2 separate regions of the Homo sapiens genome follow, and region 2 is linked to region 1. The links are contacts of gene promoters, found by promoter capture Hi-C in human tissues and cell types (Jung and others, 2019). All regions are on one chromosome and are shown on one strand. The core of a region is centred on a gene start or on the middle of the fragment in contact, and the rest is flanking DNA. Distances in the headings are between cores, read along the strand shown.

Region 1 (6,806 bases), core at 3,218-5,717:
CCTACTTTAAAGTCCATTGAACAAGCCCTTCTGTGCAGTCTGGGAATAGGATCACTTTGGGTGACAGTCTCTGTTCTGCCACTGACCTCCTGTGTCTATTTGGCAATTCATTTAGCCTCTTGGAACCTCAGTTTCCTCCTGTATGTAATGACAATAATAACACCTACACATGACATTTCTGTGAAAAATTAAGTGAGATGATGAATGTAAAGCATCTACCCCAAAAGTTGGCCCAGATTGGGACTCAATTTATTCACTAATGTTGGATGGTAAATGTCAAATCCCAGAACAACTAGAAGCAAAGAGGTACACAGAAATCAAGCAGTCCATCATGTGCTATGAGAAATGTAACATTAAAGATGTCATCATGGAAAAATAGAAGTCAAGTAAAACCCTCTGTTAACAAATCTTGTAATACAATTGCCAGTGAGAAAGGGGCAGAGTGGTGAATTGAAATACTAAACTTAACTCCGGCATAAAAATATGAAAAAGAGATATTAACACCCGTCACCTACTTACTACCTACAAAGGATTTTATAAAGATTAATGCTACAGCACTTTAAAATCCCTTGGAAATAAGGAATAAACACATACACCATTATGCATACATATAAAGGCAAATATATATTTTAACACTCTAAGGATTACTATATAAATTTAGATCAGGGCACAGCATGCCTGGGATGAGTAGGGTGGGAACAATATGTTCTTGCTTACGACACCAAGCTCATGACAAATGATTCATACCCAGCACCTTTCATGCCAGAAGATCCCCCCAGGTGTTCCACCAACTCTAGCAACAGTTTCCATCAATCGAGACTGCAGTACAGAGGAATCACATCACACCCACAGACGAGGCAAAACAGACATGTCTTTATACAACTGCTCAAGTCCAACAGCTGAGGGGGCAGGAAAGTGAAGGGAAGGAGGTGAGTGAACCATCCAGAATTCCTCACCAGATTGACAAGCAGCCTATAATTACCATGCATTTGCACCTTGAATGCAGGTGTTGTCATAATCAGAGACTCTTCATAGCAAAGGCTTTTTGCTAAAGGTGAGAAGGGTTCACAGGATGTGCACTGCCTGTGGTCCTGAATGGGTCTGGGGGCAGATTTATAGGGGAGGACATCTAAATGTGAAAAGATAAGAGTCCCCCATGCCCCTCCACCACTCCAATCTGGCCCTCGGGTTTAAATTAGTGGATTTCCCACCCTGGGGTAAAGTGAAGTGCTGTTGAGAGTTCCAAACAAGTGTATGAGGCTGTAAAGTCACACTGCCCTCTTATGTATAGCCTGGCTCCTAATTCTCTGTAGTTAATCTGACCGGCATAGCCCCCACTTTAGAGATGAAAAAATCCACATTCAGCGGACACTCAACTTGCCTCGGTCAAACCACAAATAAGCAGAACTAGAATTCAGGTCTCCACTCTGCTTTGCATTCTACAAAACGGCCAAAAAAAAAAAGTTTATTTATGCTTTCTTTCCCTTTAAAAAATATTTTAAACTTTCTCTGAGTCTGGTCCAGATACGTAGGACTGGCTTTGTTTTGGAGGACATAGATAAAGACTATTTCTCTTTCTCCACTATCTGTATGTATATACTTAAAAAAGAAAAAGAAGAAACACCTTTGTGTGTGATGACCAGAGCAGAGACTGGGTCAGCAGAGGTCTTTATGGAATAAGAGACTTCAGGGGGCAGAAATCTCACCTCATTAGTTAACATGATTTGAGTGATCAAAACTTTAACACTCATCACCTCATTTCCTACGTTATCTCAGACCTGCCTGCATGTTCAATGCCCTGAACCTAATAAGCCCTACTAGAATTATAAGCACCATTTATTATTATTTTTTAATGCTGGCAGTGCTTGGCACCATTTCCTAAACGGAGGTTAAAAATTTGCCAAAGATGTATTCTACTTTTCTCTTTCTTTCCAAGATCTTTCAAGAGATGAGCTAAAAGAAGAGGTCTAATGGGTGAGTGATATTTTACAGCTTGAATTACATTAAAAGCCAGAAACATTCTGAGTCCAAAGTCTTTTACTTCTTAATACAACAAGAGCTAACATGTTTGATGTGTTTCAAATCTCCCCTTAAAGCCAGAAGCTTTGAGTTAATCACTTAAAGCAGTGTGAAAGTTATTCAATCAGTTTAAGAAGATTCGAGTTCAAATTAGAGGATTAATTTTAGTGGCTATGATATGAAAGATATAATGGTTAAGGTAAGGAATGAGGGCAAGGGTCTCCAGAACTTGAATGGAAAGAATTTCAGCTTCATTTATTTGATCAAACCACTCCTGAGAACCATATAAAATCACAGACTCTGTCATGAAGGAGGAATTGTAGGGAAAACCCTGCTACTACTCTCAGGACAGATACATCAATGCTAAATATTATCTATCATGATGTGCCTTAATACAATTTATATCTGTGTACCCAAGGAATTCATGATGACAGATTAGTATTTTAAAATGTTCACAACTCTCATTAAAAAGCTGACAATGAGCACAACTCACTAAAGTGGCACTTCTCTGGGAAGGTTTCTGGGAATTACATCACAACAGAAAACGTTTTGAAAGGTTCCAGACTGCGTAAATTGTGCATATTACAAACACTACAATCTCAATTACCTGGTTGAAGCTGTAAAACTTGAAATTTTTTTCCCCCATTTTACCCATCCTTGGTTGTTATGTTCTTGTCTATGTCTGGAGAAGTTTCCACACTTTAAAATCACTTTTAGTTATTACAATCAAAGCTGGTTCTCTACTATTTCAACTCACTGAAGTTTCTAGGTTCAATTTAAACAGGAATAGCTCCCTCAGATTGCAGACATGCAAGCTTTTCTGAAAATCTAAAACCTTTCCTGATAGGACCAAAGCTCATGGACTTGCATCCTAAGTCCCCTGGAATCCAGCCTCCTGGAATTGAGCAATCCCTTTCCTGCCTTCATAAAGGGAATGTTAAGTCTTTATTTGTGCTCTTCATTAGAGGAGGTCAGGCAATGGGGGAGAACAGGGAGTTGTTGTCACTGGGATATATCTGATCTTCCTGGGACTGACCATGCCAGAGAACAACCGCTCATTCACGGGCTGGAAAGCCCCAGTTCTCAAAACACCCTCGCTTAGCGCTGTTAGAAGATGCTGGAGAGTTCCTGCCCTGAAACTTGCATCCACTTGGTCCCTAAAGCAGAGGATACACTAAAGAACACCTTATATACTCTCCACTGCAGTTCTCCCTTGTGGAGAAGAAGGGGTTAGGAGCTCCGCATGAAATTAAAATAAAATAAAATAAAACGCCTACATATATGGGTCTTCTTAATCTTCTTTGAGCCAGTACATAGGTCTGGCAAGTAAAGGGAAAGTCACTTGAGGGGATGTCAGCTTGCCTGGAAATTTAACCCTTTCATCTCTGTATTAGGAGAACTTTAACCCCTCTGTTTACCTGGTCTTCAGTTCCACACACCAATGCGACCAAGGCAACAGGAAATAGGGATTTGACTCCTCAGTTTGAAGCTGTGGCATTTGGAGAGGACTCTGATGGTGTTGGTGGGAGAGATGGGGAGGTTGGTCTCCTAGTAGGTGATGTTAACTCTTGGGGGAAGTGGGCAGAGACCAGTTTGCAGCATCTCCCATGTCCAGAAACCCTATTTCCCCCCAATTCTCCATCAGATCACACAGCCGACTTTAACCCTTTCCATCTTTCCACCCCTTTACCCTCAGTCCCATTCTACTCACGCTGCTGTTGTGGCCAGACCAGTGGACCATGGCTTGGTTGTGTGCTGAGTCTCCCGTCAGCGCAAACGTGGTGCTGGTCAGTCTCAGCTCCTCCATCCGGAAGCGGGTGGCTTTGTCCGGGTCCCGCTCCCGAGTCCCAGGCTCCTGCTGCCCTCCATCTCTTAGCACTCCCCGGGGGCTCCGACTCGCGCCCTCTCCCCGTTCTGCCTTCTCCTGATCCGCTCCGCTCCGTCTCCTCCGGCCGGAGCGTGCAGCAACCGCCATGGATGCCCCAGTGCCCCGAGCCCGCTCCAGGGATAGCGCTCGGTCCCCGGGGGCCACTGAGAACAGGGGACGCACTACGAGGGGCAGGGGCGTGGCAGGAGCCCTGCCTGGCCGCCCCTGGTGGGAAAAGCCCCTAGGGGTCGAGGCCGAGCGTGGAGCGGAGCTGGGGTGCGGCGAGGGGCAGCAGGAGCCGCCGCCGCAGACGCCCGGGGCGCAGAGGATCAAGAGCCCCGCGCCGGCGAGGAGCGCGCTCAGCCGGGCTTGGGAGCCGCCGCCGGCGCCAACTTTTCCCATCGCGGGAGCGAAGAGCAGCGGAGAGAGGGGTCCCAGAACGAAGGTGGCGGCACGAGCTCTGCGCTGGCGGCTGTGGGGGGCCGGCGCTCAGGACCCCAACTCCATCCAAGTTGCGCCGCGGTGGGGGCGGGCGGAGGCGGCGCCGGGCAGGTGGCGGCCGCTTGCCCGGGCTGGGCTTGTGCCGAGCGCGGGTCCGGACGGAGCGAGCCGCCGCCGCGCGGGGGTGGAGCTGAGCTGAAGTCACTGGCGGAGCGGGCGCGGGCGCTGGCGGGCGACGCGGGAGGGAGGGCAGGCGCTGCCGGGACTCCGGGCGCCGCGTCCCGCGGCCGAGCTGCGCTGCGCACCGGGTCTCCGGGCGCTGGAGGCGCCGCCGGCGACCTCCCCTCGGCCTCGCAGGCGCTGCCGCCGCCTCTCCCCGCCGCCCACTCTGCGCCCCCGCGGCCGCGGGTCCCGGCGCTGAGTCCGCGCACCCTGCCCGCGGGGGCGGTCGACCCCGGGCTCCCGGAGCAGTCGATGTGTCGGGAGCTTCCTATTCCTGCTTTATTGTTTCTATGAGTCTATGTTGCTGTTTCCTTTTTTCTCCGTCTTTCTGGTCTTTTCTAGTTGAGGAGATAGGGATGGGTGGGCTTCTGCTCCTTCCCTCTCTTATGCTTCCTGAGTTGGCATCTTGACCTTACCCGCAGCAGAGCCTGTGTGTCCCAGCCTGGGGGGAGATCCCGGAAAGGCAGCAGCAGAGAGTGATGTAATTAAATGATCTCGTGTGTGAGTGTGTGTGTGTGTGTGTGTGTGTGTGTGTTAGTTTGGGGGATTTTTTTTCCCATCAATTTTAACGCTTAGATTTCTCTCCTAACCTCCTAAAGCATTCACTGAATTTGAACCCAATCTTCCTGCATGCAATCATATTTAAGAAAACGCTTTCCACTACGCGTTTTTTAAGCGTATATATCTTGGTTTCCCTAAGAGACTGCAAACTCATTGAGGACAGGAAGATCAAATTTCGAGCAACTTGGAGGAAGTGACCTGTTTTTTGTTTACCATTTTCCTCAGTACGTGGCACAGTACCCTACATGGGAGGAAATCTGCCAGTCATTAGTTCAATAAATATTTATTGTGAGTCTAATGCATATCTGCATAACAAATAAATACAGGAAAGGAGGCACAGTACTTATAGTTATTCTGTGTCACTTGGTGCCTGGCCCAGTGCTACTGCCACATGCTTTGAGATCCCTAATAGCAAGTCTGTGATGGTGCTCTGCCACTGGTTTGCTTTGGGACCTCAGACAAATCACAATCTGTCAGCTTCCTAAGCTTTAAAATTAAATGGTCACATTAGATGACCTTTAAAATCCCTTCCGCTCCTAAAATTCTATAATTGTATGATTATAGTATCTGCCCAGCCTAGCACCCTGCTACTATTCGTAAGTTCAGATGAAGATTTATAGCAGGTGAATGGGCTTTGAAAACGGCAAAGGATTTCTCAAAATCCAATCCTTTTTAAAGTAGACAGTTTGCTTCTAAGGGTTGAAATGGTTTCAGATTTCTTTGCAGTCTTCATATACGTAATATTCTCTTAGGTACATGTTATTACATTATTTAATGAATATTTACTGATTGAATAAATGAATGACACAACAAAATAGTACCGATTCCAGTTTCTAGTTACATTTTTGTTCATTTTCATACTAGAATAATAACCTCACTGAAAAATCTGTATACCGTGTTTGCGATGAGGCCAAGTTCAAAGTAATACAGAGTGATAATTACTCTTCAATTAATGAAATTCTTTCTAATGTCCAAGAAAACGTCTGTTATATCAATCCAATCCAGAGAGGTGTTGTAAAATATCGGCCTAAGTTCTTGTTCTTACGACCAGCGCAGAAAAAGTGCAAATGCAAGGAGGGCAGGCTTCTCAGCCATTAAACTTGAGTACCTAAAAGGACCTAAAAGAGTGTCCTGTTTGTCGTTAAAGAAGAAATACAAGCAAAAGCTCCTTTATGCCTGAATCCTCCAAAACAGAAAGGCTGTCTGGCAGGCTATGGCCTCTAGATGGAGGAGAGGAGAGCCAGAGGTCCTCTCTCCTCCTCAAATTGCAAATGTTCTTTGTCAAAACCCAGAGCGGTAGTTTTTTCTTTCCTCAGAAAGGTTTTTAGAGCTTTGCAGGATCATTTACTTAATGACTTCTTTCTATGCCCTGCTAACCTCCTTTCCAGTCTGGATAAGTACATGGGAATTCCTCCAAGAAAGGAAAAGCAGATTAAAGAATCAGAACCCAAATAAATTATCATCCAAATATAGGCTGGAAGAAGCAAAATGGAAAAGAAGACATTAGTGGATTCAGATTTCCTGGCTTTAGTCTATCATTGCCCTACCACCATTTATGTTATTTTGGTTTCAAAATGGAAGCGCTTCCTGAAGAATGCTCGTACAAGTAGAGTAGATTTTTCCTTCCCAGAATTTACAACCTCTTTTCAAACACACCTGTCAGAATGATCCCTTTAAAATGAAAGCATTTGCAGTC
Region 2 (6,806 bases), core at 1,304-3,803, 110 kb after region 1:
TCCCACTGAACCCATTAGGGTAGTGGGAAGCAGAGTTTCCAGGTGGGTGCCACAAAGGGTAAGGCATCTGATGGCATTCTTGGGGTTTGCTTGTACAAAGATACTCAGGTGTGGGAGGGATGTTCAATGAAATATTTCTTTATATCACCCCAAACAGCAATGTTTTAAGAGGAATCAAGACGTGTTTCATCTTACATCCATTTGATGCCATAGTTTTGTTAATGGTGGAAGGTGTCCAGGTTCTTGGCATTTTGAACAAAGAATTGGACAAAATGCACAAACCAAGCAAGGAAGGAATGAAGGGATTTATTGAAAATGAAAGTACACTCCAGTGTGGGAGCAGGCCCAAGCATAGGAGCTCAAAAGCCCTGTTACGGAATTTTTGGGAGTTTACCCCCTAGAGGATTCCATCGGTTATTTGGTGTATGCCCTATGTAAATGGAGACGATGAAGTTACAAGGTCATTTACTTGGTCTACGCCCTATGGAGAGGATATTTCCTGTCACAGCTGAAGTGTGAATCGATTGGCCTTATGTTCCCTGCCTCCAGACCCTATTTTCCCGCCTTTTACTCTTTTGTTCACCCTCCCTCCATCTCCTAGCACAACTAATGTCGTTTTTGGAATAAAATTCGAAATCTTTAACAGCAGACTGTGACTGATCTGGCCCTTGCTTGTCTCTCCAGCCTCATCTCTGGCCATCTTCCCTGCATACTGTCCACACTGGCCATGAGCAATGTCCTAAAGAGTGGCACATGCCTCCACACCTAAGAGGCCTCCACATGCTGCAGTTTCCTTGTTTTTACTGTGCTATCCAATACCATCCTCTTTCTCCAATGAAACCTCACTTATTGTATTATTGCTTAATTATCACATCCTCAGAGAAAAGTTCTGACCACCCTTACTCCCATACTAGATCAGTTTTTCTGTCATAAGTTCTCATAAGATCCTATACGTTTCCCCCAAAGCAATTATAGTTAATCACACTATTGCATAACTAAACACGCAGATGTATCTTTTCCTGCTGGAAAGAAAACTTTATGAAGACAGAACCCTGTCTATTTCACTGTCTGGTACCACTGGTCCTTAGGGCCGTGCTGCTACAGAGTACATAATGAGCAGCTTTTTGTTGGATTAGTCACTGTATGTTACAACCACATCTGAGAATGAATGGAGAGCAACTGCCCAAATTCAAAGACCTTTGTGAGACCATTAAAAATAATTGAATTGAGAAAACAAAGCATTTTCTACATAGAAACATGTGTGCTGCCTTTTTAAGTCATCAAAGAAATATTCCAACTGTGTGCTAGTATATTGTTATAATTCCTGTTTATACAACAGAACACCCACACTCCAAACACATAGAATATCTCTACTTAATAGCTACATTTTCTGTTGTGGATGGTGGACAATTTCTCCTATGCTTCTGTATCTTTTCATATATGTGTCCATATGTGTTTGTGTTTGTGTATATTGTGTGTACGTTTTATTTCTAATTCAATCTGTAAACACTAAAAAGGATAAATTTACTTTTTTACAGCAGAAAGTGCACTGTTAAGTAAACTCTATTCAGTGGTGTGCTGGGGCTGGGTTATATTGTCTTGTGAGAGCTGATCGTATGCTCTGATCAACTTTGTCCATTCATGTCAAATATGTAATACGGAGTCAGAAATGGTGGGAGTATTTACATCATGAAAAGTGGCCAACACTAGAAATCAGGGCTATTTTTTTTGAGAGTCTGTTGCTAAGCATTTACCAGCAAAAAATGGTTATAATACTAGTTAAGGTTAACAATAATTGCCTATGTCTTGAGAAAATTAATAGTTTCTCAGAGTAGTCTACAGTTAATGGATTGGTGTGATATATCAATTAAGAGATCCAAATTCATGTAGATGTACAGACTGGATTAGATGAGTGAAGGGATTCCCTGTTAGAGATAGGCAAAATTTCTCCACATTCAGAAACTGAATTATTCAAAGATGTGAATACAGTGAACTGGTAAATTTAAAATCCAGCATTTACAGGTGTCAATTTTAAAAAGAGGCAATGCTAGTAATTTTAGGAGGAGAAATCTATTCCAGAGTTGTTGCTGGGATAAAAGGACATGGGTATTGTAAAAATATGAGGGAGTAAAAAATATTTGATGGGCTTTTTAATAGGAAGACTCAGGAACTTGAAAATTATGTAAGCAAAAGCATAAAAATTGCTTAAAATAGTTATTGTACTAAGTCTGCATTGGTGAAGAGCATTCCACACAAAGTGGTAGAGACAGTTGAAAACAATGAATCTATTTCAGAAATAGGGTTTTATAATCACAATTTTTAGAAAATGTATGAGTTGGAATTGAAAGTTTAGCCAAGCATGATACTGTAACAACCTAAATCGAACGGCTAAAGATCCAATAAAAGATGATCAGAGATGAGGTACAGAGCTCAGCCCAAATCTGTGGGATCTGGGGGAAATGATCCCAGTTTCCTGTGATGTCCTCAATCCTTGTAGATTTCCTTTCACCTAGACTCTGCTGTACTCACTGCCTGTTTTACCCAAAAGACAGTGAGATTTTGATGCTTCTGGTAGTCATTATCTTCAGAATGTAGCATCTTTAGCTATTCTCTTTGCTTTCTTTGTGCATAGCATAAAACATGGCTGAAAGTTATGTCAAGTGTGAAAACAGTCATTCTCTGCATCTAAGTCACATTTCATTATTCTCACCTCCAGTACTAATAATCTCCAGGCACATCCTACCAATGCCTCTTATATATTTTGGTCCTACTGCTGAACAGCTTTAAATTTTCAGGCCTGGCTAATTTATACAGACACCCTCTCATGCGATGTTAAAGCAACCACAGCATAGCTCTCCTGGGACTAACTAAAACAATGGGATTTTCTTTTCTTTTTTTTTTCTTTCTTTAAATCAAATAGTAGGTCTCAGCCATGCAGGTGGTCCAGCTTTGTTCACTGCTGTGTGTTTTAACTAAGCTTGTTTTTGAGTCATACTGTAGGTTCCCTGCTGAGTGTTCCTGGGTCCTAAGGTTCTTGCGGGTTCTGAGAGGGCCTCTGTCTTCTCTTATTGGACTCTGTGGTGGATCCTTCAAAGATTATTGATTTTTAAGGTATTTGGTTTTTATAGACTGATTTAGTTCACACTAATTTCTGAAATCCACCCAAAGTTATTTGTGTTTCTGTCTTCTGCTTGTGAAACCTTAGTTTTAATATATAAGCACATAATCTGAAGCTAAGAATAAGTGAAAGAAAAAGACCCTTTTTCATTTCATTATTGTTATTATATTTTTGTTATTGTGGTTTTAGCTAAAAAATTAGCAGAGAGCTAACCAGAGAAACTTGTGACTTTGTTTTTAGACATTAGGTTGGATGGCAAAGTGAAATGTGGTCTAGAATAGAGTCTAATCCTGTGTTGCTACCACCTAGCTGAATGACTTTAGCAAGCTACTTCATCGTTTCAGGTGTCTCTTTCTTCATCTGTAAAATAAATAACTCTAAAGCTCCTTTTTCTCTAATATTCTATGAAGACATAGCACATAAGTCAGAATACCTTAGAGAGTCTGGAGAGGGAGACACCTGCTGTAGTCCAGTGAATACTCATATAAGGCTGAAGGAAAGATCAATACATATTAAACTGTCAAAACGTAATGCCTTTATTTTCTCCTAAAAAGGTGTATCATCCATACTGTATCCATATATAATGTTACTGCAACAAGGCAAGATAACAGAAAATAGCAGGGGAGATAAAAACAAATCTTACTATTTGTCAGACACTGTGCTGAATGCTTTGCACATATCATCTTCTTATAATGCAATAGCTTCATGGGGCAGGCATTATTATCACCACCTTACACATGAGCCTTAAAGAGGTTAAGTAATTTGCTTAATGTCATGTCACTAGTAAATTATGTATATTGTATTCCAATCCAACTCACTCTGATGTAAATAACACTGCCACCCCAAGAGGGAAAGAGACTGGTACCATCCCATATCTTTTGTTAAGTGGCTGGATCTAACACCTGGATAAGTTGATTCTGGATAACTCTATAGTCCAACTCTACAGATTCTGGAGAACTCTATAGTCCATCTCAGTATAGACTGCAGGAGATTTTGTTCTGGGATGTGTGAAGGAACCTGGAACTCACATGTATCTTTCAGTAGGGTAGCTCTCTGACTAAATAAGAAAAATAAATCTTGCTTATATCAGACTGTTGCTATCTGTCCTTTGGGGGAGACAGCATCTCTGCCATGTTCATCAGCAATGTCTCCAAGGCCATGATCCTTCAACTCATCATCCAGTTTTCTGAGGAAGTGGAGAGTGAGTGAAGTTGATTGATTGAATGGTCCTGTGCCTAGAAAACAACAAAGTGATTTTAACCCAGAGCCATGTACTACATTCAGCTCATTGCTAACTGCAAAGACATTCATCTATAAAGTAAACTCACTGGGCTGTTTATTCCTTTTTATTGTTTATAAAAAAATATTTATTTTTATTTATTTATTTATTTATTGTTTTTTTGTGTGTGTATGTGTGTGTGCATTAAAATGACAATAAACTGGAATTAATGTGCTTACTCTGAACCTAAAAAGAAGATACTTGGTGGATACTGAGGTAATCTTTATGCTTTACCAGGAGGGTATACACGCTTTGAGTTGTCTGTGAAACACTGGAGTATGTTAAGTTATCCATCTATTTTTGGAGTGGTATTCAATGACTAGGCAACCCTTGCTAATGTGATGAAGGCACAGATTCTCCATGTCAGCCAAATCACTCAAGGGAACGTCCTCTAGAACTTCTAAGCTAAAAGTGACCTGAGGAACACTCTAGTCTAGTTTTACACTGGCCAGGGATGAGATGTTGTGCCCATTGAGAATCTAATACAGGACTTTGACCCTCAGTAACAGATATCCCTCTGTATTCATTGGTAATTAGTTTTAAGTTGTAGGAAAACCTCTTGAGCTAGTTTAAGATTAAAATTAAAATATACTTAAAGGTTAAGAGAAGGTCACAATGAGGCAGAAGACAGGTTCTGAGTCTCAGGAAGGAATGGAAGCAGAAAAGGGAAAGGTATTAGGCATGTAGGGAGCTCCTTGGGCCTCTCACATTTCTGCTTTATATGATCATTTTTGTCATTCTCTGGAGACTAGCTTTTCCCCTACACTCACACTTAATTACATGGTAGAAAGGGCTGTTCTTTGTGTAGAACAAGAGTAGTTGTTCTATATCAATGAAAGTTTTTCGATTGGCCCAACTTGTATTGGATGTTATGGTAGACTAAATTGTTGGTTCTAATTTGTCACTTCCTTGTAGAAGAACAATAACATTCACACTGTTGTTATGCCTTTGTGTTGGGTGGATACTATCCTTTGGGCATTGGCATGTGATTTGCTTTACTTTGGCTAATGGACTTTAAATGGATATGGCAGAAGCAAAAGTTTTAACTGTGCTCAGACGGTTATCCTTTTATGCTCCAGTGATCTGTCATTAGAAGAATGTACTCTACATTGCCACTGTTCCTTCAGCTTGGACCTCAGAGTAAATGTACATGAAGTAGACATAAACCAAATCTGCAACCTGGAACTAAGCCAGTTTACATAACCCAGACTAAAGTCCTTTTGCAGACCCATAAAATATGAATAAGTACTTGTTGTTGTAATCTTTTGACACTTTGGCATGATGTAATATGTAATGTTATTGTGCAATAGTTGACTGATAAAGAAATTGGTACTGAAAGTAAAGTGTTAACGTAACAGATGTCTCAAATCTTGTCTTTAGGACTGTTAGTAATCGGTGAGAAAACACTGATTTGAAGCTAGGAAAGTGGAAATCCATTTTATGTGGTGGCAAAATATTTGGTAAATCTCTCTCTTACCTGTGGTAAATTGGAAGACAGAAAATATTCTTAATAAAGTTGAACATTCTGCCAGGTGGTTTAGAAGCTTAATATTGAAAATATTAGTTGATGGCTACTAGGTGAATTTGATAAGTTACATTAAGAAAAAAACTGAAATCAGGAAAACAATTTGCAAATATAATTGATAAGGAATATATACAGTCCATATATTCTAAGATTTACAAAGTTAAAAAATAAATCTCTTTATCATTTCAAATATCTGGACATTAAAATGCAAAGTTTTAGGATGAATTCCAAATTGTGGACATTATCTTTAAGACATAGCTTAAGGGCAAAAGAAAGTCAATGACGTGGTTGTCATACTGTTTGTTAAGAACCTCTGGAATGGGTGTTGAGTTTTATCGCAGGCCTTTTCTGCATTTTTTGAGATAATCATGTGGTTTTTGTCATTGGTTCTGTTTATATGATGGATTACGTTTATTGATTTGTGTATGTTGAACCAGCCTTGCATCCCAGGGATGAAGCAGACTTGATGGTTGGGGTTAATCTTTTTTGATGTGCTGCTGGATTCGGTTTGCCAGTATTTTATTGAGGATTTTCACGTCGATGTTCATCAGGGATATTGGCCTGAAATTTTCTTTTTTTGTTGTGTTTCTGCCAGGTTTTGGTATCAGGGTGATGCTGACCTGATAAGATGAGTTAGGGAGGAGTCCCTCCTTTTCTATTGTTTGGAATAGTTTCAGAAGGAATGGTACCAGCTCCTTTCTGTATCTCTGGTAGAATTTGACTGTGAATCTGCCTGGTTCTGGGCTTTTTTTGGTTTGTAGGCTATTAATCACTGCCTCAATTTTAGAACTTGTTATTGGTGTACTCAGGGATTCGATTTCTTCCTGGTTTAATCTTGGGAGAGTTTATGTGTCCAGGAATTTATCCTTTTCTTCTAGATTTTC

What was found. The method cuts DNA at HindIII sites, captures the fragments that hold promoters and counts their contacts. A contact is called where the count stands out against the background at its distance.
Region 2: a contact is called between a fragment that was not itself captured here and the fragment with the promoter of SORCS1 in region 1, in 2 of the 25 tissues and cell types used here (heart right ventricle and mesendoderm cells).

Annotation. Positions count from the first base shown.
Region 1 is chr10:107,160,239-107,167,044 of GRCh38, forward strand. SORCS1 (sortilin related VPS10 domain containing receptor 1) reads right to left here and starts at 4,468. Exons shown (of 26, transcript NM_052918.5): 1 at 3,731-4,468. The coding sequence starts at 4,288. RefSeq lists a silencer at 4,184-4,377. The HindIII fragment of the contact is 4,558 bases long and covers 2,469-6,806 here.
Region 2 is chr10:107,274,854-107,281,659 of GRCh38, forward strand. No RefSeq gene overlaps it. Among named protein-coding and RNA genes, the nearest start is that of SORCS1, 110 kb to the left of the region's middle. The HindIII fragment of the contact is 3,812 bases long and covers 648-4,459 here.